Regions from separate parts of the Homo sapiens genome. Here region 1 is linked to region 2. Evidence: promoter capture Hi-C in 16 types of primary human blood cells and fetal thymus (Javierre and others, 2016). All regions are on one chromosome and are shown on one strand. The core of a region is centred on a gene start or on the middle of the fragment in contact, and the rest is flanking DNA. Distances in the headings are between cores, read along the strand shown.

Region 1 (3,004 bases), core at 171-2,670, about 12 Mb before region 2:
GTGGGATTGCTAGATCACTCGAATCTTATGCCTCAGAGGCTTGACACAAGAGCAAAACTATGGAAGTGTGGCTAGGGTGATATGGCTTCATACCACCTCAGGCCTCAAGTCCTCAACTGCACCAGAGTGTCCACGTTGGACAGAATCCTTAGTAATGAGGTGTGTGATAAAGTCTCTGCTCAGTTGTCTATAATCTCATTTGAGAGTTCACAAAGGGGCAAAACATTAAAAAGAGGCATATGGTAAGCACTTCAGTGTGTGTTTATATCATAATTTATCACAGTCCATACTGATAATATATTTCATCCAGGCTTGTAGGACAGAAAACATTTGTTTAAGTTAAATTCAGTGTTTCACCATAGCTCAGCATTCTCCCATCATCCTAGGACCATCGTAGTAGAGAACTCTTGTAAATTGTGCAGTAGGGTTGCAAACAGAACTTACGCTTGTCATTCAGGAGACAGGCCTTAGAATAAGAGTTTGTTCACACATTTACAAAACCCTAATGATGAACATGTCAAAAGTGGTGACCACTAGAATGTCAACTACAGGTACCTTGTTTTCTGCATCCTCAGGACCTTAACACTGATTAGCACTTACATGTTTAGTATGTGTTAAATGACTCAAAAGGAGAAAATATGATATTTTAAAATTGCATCTAGGAGAGAAAATCTACAAAAAATAATTCAGGGACACGAGTTAAAATGCAGAATACACTCAGTTCTGCAATCCAAAGCATTATTTTGGGTAATCTTACCCTGTTGCACTTGGCTGCTGGCTTCCCCTCATCCTCTGTTCTGAAGTTTACTACTAGTGGCTTTGTCTAATGCTCCATTGGTTGCATACAATATAAATTCAACAATCATTTGTAACTCTTCTCACACTACAGGCTGAAAATGGTTTGTTAACTTGTCAATAACAGTCCACTGCATATATCACAATTACATTTTTTTCAACAGTGTTAAGGCAAAATTTATAGTAATACTTTTTACGTGGCAGATGTAGTTACGTTGGAAAAAACTTCCTTAGTTCTGAATTCTCATGATTGCTTCTGTATTTCCATGCAGGCCTTGATATAATGGCCTTCTAATTGTGGTAGCATTTATTTTATCAAACAACTCAGGTAGAAGCTATGCCAATTTGACAATTTTTGGAAACCTAACCTAATATTCTCTTCCTATCTCTATGAAATACCAAGAGAAACCTATCGGAGTTTGGTAATTTCATGAAATGTATCCATGATTGGGGTAGGAGTGACATTTACATGCTCTTCTTTATTGTTGGCAGTAAAAATAAGTCTTTTGTAAGCAGTGTATATCAGAATGTATAAGGTACAAGTGTTTTACCTGGAAATGATGGGATAGGAAATTATGATTATGATGTTAAAACTGTGAAAAGTAGAAAACCACATGGATGATATCACCCCATTTTAAAATGGAATAAGTATTCAACAAGAATTTGTGTGAAATGCATTTATTCCTATAACATAAGACCAATAAAATGAGGGAACCAGACATACAGTAAAAGGAGAAAAACATAATGTGAGCTTTGTGAAATCTGACTGTAACCTTCATAACATAATCAAATATCTTTGTGTGTTTCTGGGACTTTTTAATGTGTATATACGTAATTTGTGAACAACTATTCTTTCCTCTGGCAATGAATATTTGCTGGTATTTTTCCATTTTATAATTTTATGCATTTTTTCTCAGTGAACATCAGTTTTATCAAAGCAGTAAATTTAGTGCAATAAATTTGCAAACTTATTAACGTTAATCACTTACCTACCAGGACTCAGAATCTCAGAATAAAATTGCTCTATATTGTCATATGATGTAAGTTCACAATGACTAGGGCATTTTGAAGTCATTTCAAAGTGAAATACTCTCTGGTTGGGCCAGGCGCAGTGGCTCACGCCTGTAATCCCAGCACTTTGGGAGGCTGAGGGTGGTGGATCATGAGGTCAGGAGATCGAGACCAACCTGGCTAACACGGTGAAACCCCATCTCTACTAAAAACACAAAAAATTATCCAGGTGGTGGCGGGCGCCTGTAGTCCCAGCTACTCGGGAGGCTGAGGCAGGAGAATGGTGTGAACCCAGGAGGCAGAGCTTGCAGTGAGCTGAGATCATGCCACTGCACTCCAGCCTGAGCAACAGAGTGAGACTCTGTCTCAAAAATATATATATATTCTCTGGTTTTTAGAATATGCAGATAAAGTGATGAAGTCTGGTTAACTGTCTTGGTAATTAAAGCATGTGATGCTTCTTTAGGGATAAGTCAGGGAGTGTGCAAATACTGGAGATCCTGCCCAGTGCCCAGACACAGCTGATTTATCGAGACAGAGAATTCACAATAGCGAAAGAATTTAATACACATAGAACTGGCTAAATGGGAGACAAGGGTTTTATTATTACTCAAATCAGCCTCCTTGAAAATTTGGAGGCTAGGGTTTTTCATAGATAGTTTGACAGGCAGGGGGCTAGGGAATGGGTGCTGCTGGTTGGCTGGGGATGTGAAAAATGGTCCTTGTGCATTAAGTCCACTTCTGGGTGGGGGCCACAGGACCAGTTGAGTCAAGAGTCATGGGTTTAGGTGGGGCCATCTGGTTGTCAGAAATGCAGAAGCCTGAAAAGACATCTCAAAAGGCCAGTCTTAGGTTCTACAATAGTGGTGTTATTTACTGGAGTAACTGGGGAATTTGCAAATTTTAAGACCTCTGGAATAACAGCTGGAAATCAGAATAATGACTGGTAATCCTTTACACATATATCTTAGAATTCAGGCCCCTCTCATCCTCGTAAACTAGTGGGGCCTTTCAATAGTATTACAAAGGCAGTTTAGTTTGGGGGAAGGGCTATTACCATTTAAATTATAAACTAAATTCCTCCCCAAGTTAGCTGGGCCCACGCCCAGGAATTACTACCAAGGGCAGTTTGGTGGTTAAAAGCAAGATGGAGTTGGTTAGATGAGATCTCTTGCACTGTCATAATGTTCTCACTGTT
Region 2 (3,310 bases), core at 298-2,797:
TAGGAATAAGAGTATGATATTGTGAAATATATATTTGATCTTCCTAGCATAGAACTTCTAAAATCCTTAGAAACTACAAAGTAACAGTAAAAACTCATTTTGTATGCTAATGAGTTGACAGCTGGCAACCCCTATAGAGTTTCAGGATGGGGACTGGTTATGGAAAGACCAAGACATGACTAGAAGGTTGGGACATTCAACCCCACCCCCAACCCTAAGGAGGGGACGGGATTTTAATCAACCATGCCTATGTAATGAAGCCTCTGTAAAACTCCCAAAAGACAGGGTTTAGAGAGCTTCCACCCAGCTGAACATGTGGAGGTTACTGGAAGGTGCAACACCCTTTTTTCTGTACTTTGCCCTACGCATCTCTTCATCTATATCATTTGTAATATCCTTTATAATAAACTAGTAAACATAAGTGTTTCCTGAGTTCCGTGAGCCACTCTAGCAAAATATCGAACCGCAAAGAGGGGGTGGTGAAAATCCCAATTTGAAGGTGGTGGAGTCAGATGTTCCAGAGGCTAGACTTTAGTGGGAAGTGGGAAGGGGGAGGCAGGCTTGGGGACTGAGCCCTCAGCGAATGGTGTCTGACCCATCTCCAAGTAGACGGCGTCGGAATTAAACTGGAGGACACCCAGCTGGTGCCCGCTGCAGAACTCACTGAACTCATTGCTTGCTTGAGATGTGTGGGAAACTCCCCTATATTTGGTCAGAAAAGTCTTCTGTTATGATTAGTTGTCGTTGAGATAATAGAAAAAAATGCACCTTGCGTTTTTTCCACTGATTCAGAGGGCATAACTGAAAGAATGAAGAACTGAAAGAATGATCTTAATACTCTGCTTCGCTTTTCTTGATAATACGCATTACTTCCCAATATGCATCAGTGTCCTTTATTATTAATTTTTTCCTATTGAATTCCTCCCGCATTAGAATGCTGCTCCATGAGGTGGGGATTTTGTCTGCTTGTTCACTGCTGTGTGCCCAGGGCCCACGACAGTGCCCGATACAGCAGGCGCTCAATAAGTGGCGAATGAAAGACAGGGCAAGGCGGAGAGAGAAGAAACAGAAAGGGAAAGAGAAAGCCCGGGCCGCCAGAGCGCTTAATCACACGTACATCCTACCGGGCCCCTCTCCAGCTGGCTCAGGCTCCACACTGGTCCTCCAGCTCCCTTTTCTCAGCGATGGACTCACAGCCCCACCCGGAGCGCTGGAGCGCGGACGCGGTCACTGCGCGTGCGCCTCACCGCGCTGGCACCCCGGCCTGGCAGCCTTTGGGGACCTGAACCAGCTGCGCCTGCGCAGGTGGAACGGGTGGAACGGGTGGGGGAGCGGACAGTCGAACGGCCTGAGAGGGCTCAGCTGGTCCGGGTGGGATTCTGAAGGCCAGCGGAGGTGGGCTTACTAGGGAAAGGGGCGCAGCAGTAACTACCCGCAACTGAGCGGCGGGATCTGCGGCCGCCCGGGGCCCTCGGCCAACATCCCAGCATCCTCTGCGCCGCGCCGGCCCCGGACTCCATTTCCCAGCGGCCCCTGCGGCCTGCCCTAGGGCTGCGGCGCCTTTGTGAGCGCGGCCGCCGGCCAGGATCGAGCCCTGGCCCGGGCCCTGGCCCAGCCCCGGCCTCCAAGGACCGCGCCGAAGGAGGTGCCCACTGGAGGGAGGAGGCGGTGAGGAGCGCGGGATGGAGCTGACGCCGGGAGCGGCCATGCCACCATGTGTGGGACCGTGTGTGACAGTGTGTGAGAATGTGTGAGACATTAAGGAACCGTGTGTGACAATGTGTTTGACAGTGTGGAATCGTGTGTGAGACCATGTGTGACTGTGTGAGAATTTGAGACCGTGTGTGACAGTGTGAGAATGTGAGGCCGTGTGTGAATATGTGTGTCAGTGTGAGACCATGTGGGACAAATGTGGGACTATGTGTGACAGTATGAGACTGGGTGTGAGAATGTGTGCGACAGTATGAGACCGTTGCCCCGGTGTATGCGGGAGCCTTTGACAGTATATGGGACCGTGTGGGACTGTGTGACACTGTATGTGCTTAAGACCACGTCACCATGTGTGAGACTGGGAATGTGTGACAGTGTTAAACTGTCATTATGTGTAGACCACGTGTGAACAGTGTGTAAGACCATGTCACTGTGTGTGTGACCTGTGTGTGTGGGATAATGTAAGACTGTGTGACAGTGTGTGTGACTTTGTGAACAGAGCTTGACCGTGTGTGTAGGATTAGATGAGACTGTGACAGTATGTGAGACCATGTCACCGTGTGTGAGGCTATGTGTGGTTGTGTACGGTGTGTGGCTGTTGATATGGGACCACATGAAACTGCGACAGAATTTGTGTGACAGTGTGTGAGACTGTGTCACTGTATGTGAAACTGTATGTGAACAGAGTTTTTGTTGTTGGACTAAGATTGTATGTGACAGTGTTTGAGATTGTGCATGACAGTGTGTGTGATTATGTGAGACTGAGGGAGATGGTGTGACTTAGCACTGTATGTCATCCCGACAGTGAGTGTGACAGTGTGACTGAGAATGGCCTTATATGACCCATTGTGAGAGCAGGGCGGGCTACAATGTGGGGGCATGTCCATAGGTTGCCAGGGGAGGTGCCAGAATGAGAAACTATGTGGTTTGTTGTCTGTGATTTGTGTGGGCAGGAAGCTGTGTGGGTGCTTGGAGATGCTGGTGTGCTCTGGGGTTTGGGAGACTGCTGTTGTGGTGGAGAGACAGAAAGATTGAGATAAAGGGGAAAAGATGGAGAAAGGGAGGGACGAGAGCTGAAAAGGGAGAGACAGACAGGAGCCTCAGCCTTAAGCCTGAAAAGCTGACCACGCTGGCTGCTTGTCCTCTGGCACAGTAGTTTTTCCATCCCTCTCAGTCTCTGGGGGCACGTGAGGAATTTAAAAGGAAAAAGGAATGGGAGACCTACCATGTGCTGGTTATGAAAATAAATGACAGAAAGATGAAAATTAAGCACTGTGCTCAATGCTTTATGTAGATCATTTCAGAATCCTCCCAACAATTGATAGGGAATAGTTACCATTTCACTGATAGAGAAACAGGTTTGCAGTGGTTACCTAACTTGCCAGAGGTTGTATAGGTAGCATGTGGTGGTTTGGCTGTTTGAGACCAGGTGTTCTGATCCTTAAGCCTAGTAGTTCTTACCACTGAGTTATGCCACTTCATAGGTAATGGCTTTATTCTTCAAGGCAGTGAGGTCTGCTGGACAAGAATTCACCATAGGGGGTTTGGATGACTGTTCAAGCATAGCCTGCTCCTCCCTCCCTCTCTCCTTCTTTCTGTC

What was found. Contacts are between HindIII fragments. The CHiCAGO score rates a contact against its expected background, and 5 or more counts as called.
Region 1: a contact is called between a fragment that was not itself captured here and the fragment with the promoter of ZNF583 in region 2, in 1 of 17 cell types (total CD4 T cells). The highest score is 6.6, in total CD4 T cells.

Annotation. Positions count from the first base shown.
Region 1 is chr19:44,012,096-44,015,099 of GRCh38, forward strand. It overlaps ZNF230 (zinc finger protein 230), which reads left to right. Exons shown (of 5, transcript NM_006300.4): 5 at 1-1,829. Among named protein-coding and RNA genes, the nearest start is that of ZNF230, 11 kb to the left of the region's middle. The HindIII fragment of the contact is 5,903 bases long and covers 1-3,004 here.
Region 2 is chr19:56,402,785-56,406,094 of GRCh38, forward strand. ZNF583 (zinc finger protein 583) reads left to right here and starts at 1,548. Exons shown (of 5, transcript NM_152478.3): 1 at 1,548-1,668. RefSeq lists an enhancer at 972-1,111 and a silencer at 1,572-1,781. The HindIII fragment of the contact is 8,045 bases long and covers 1-3,310 here.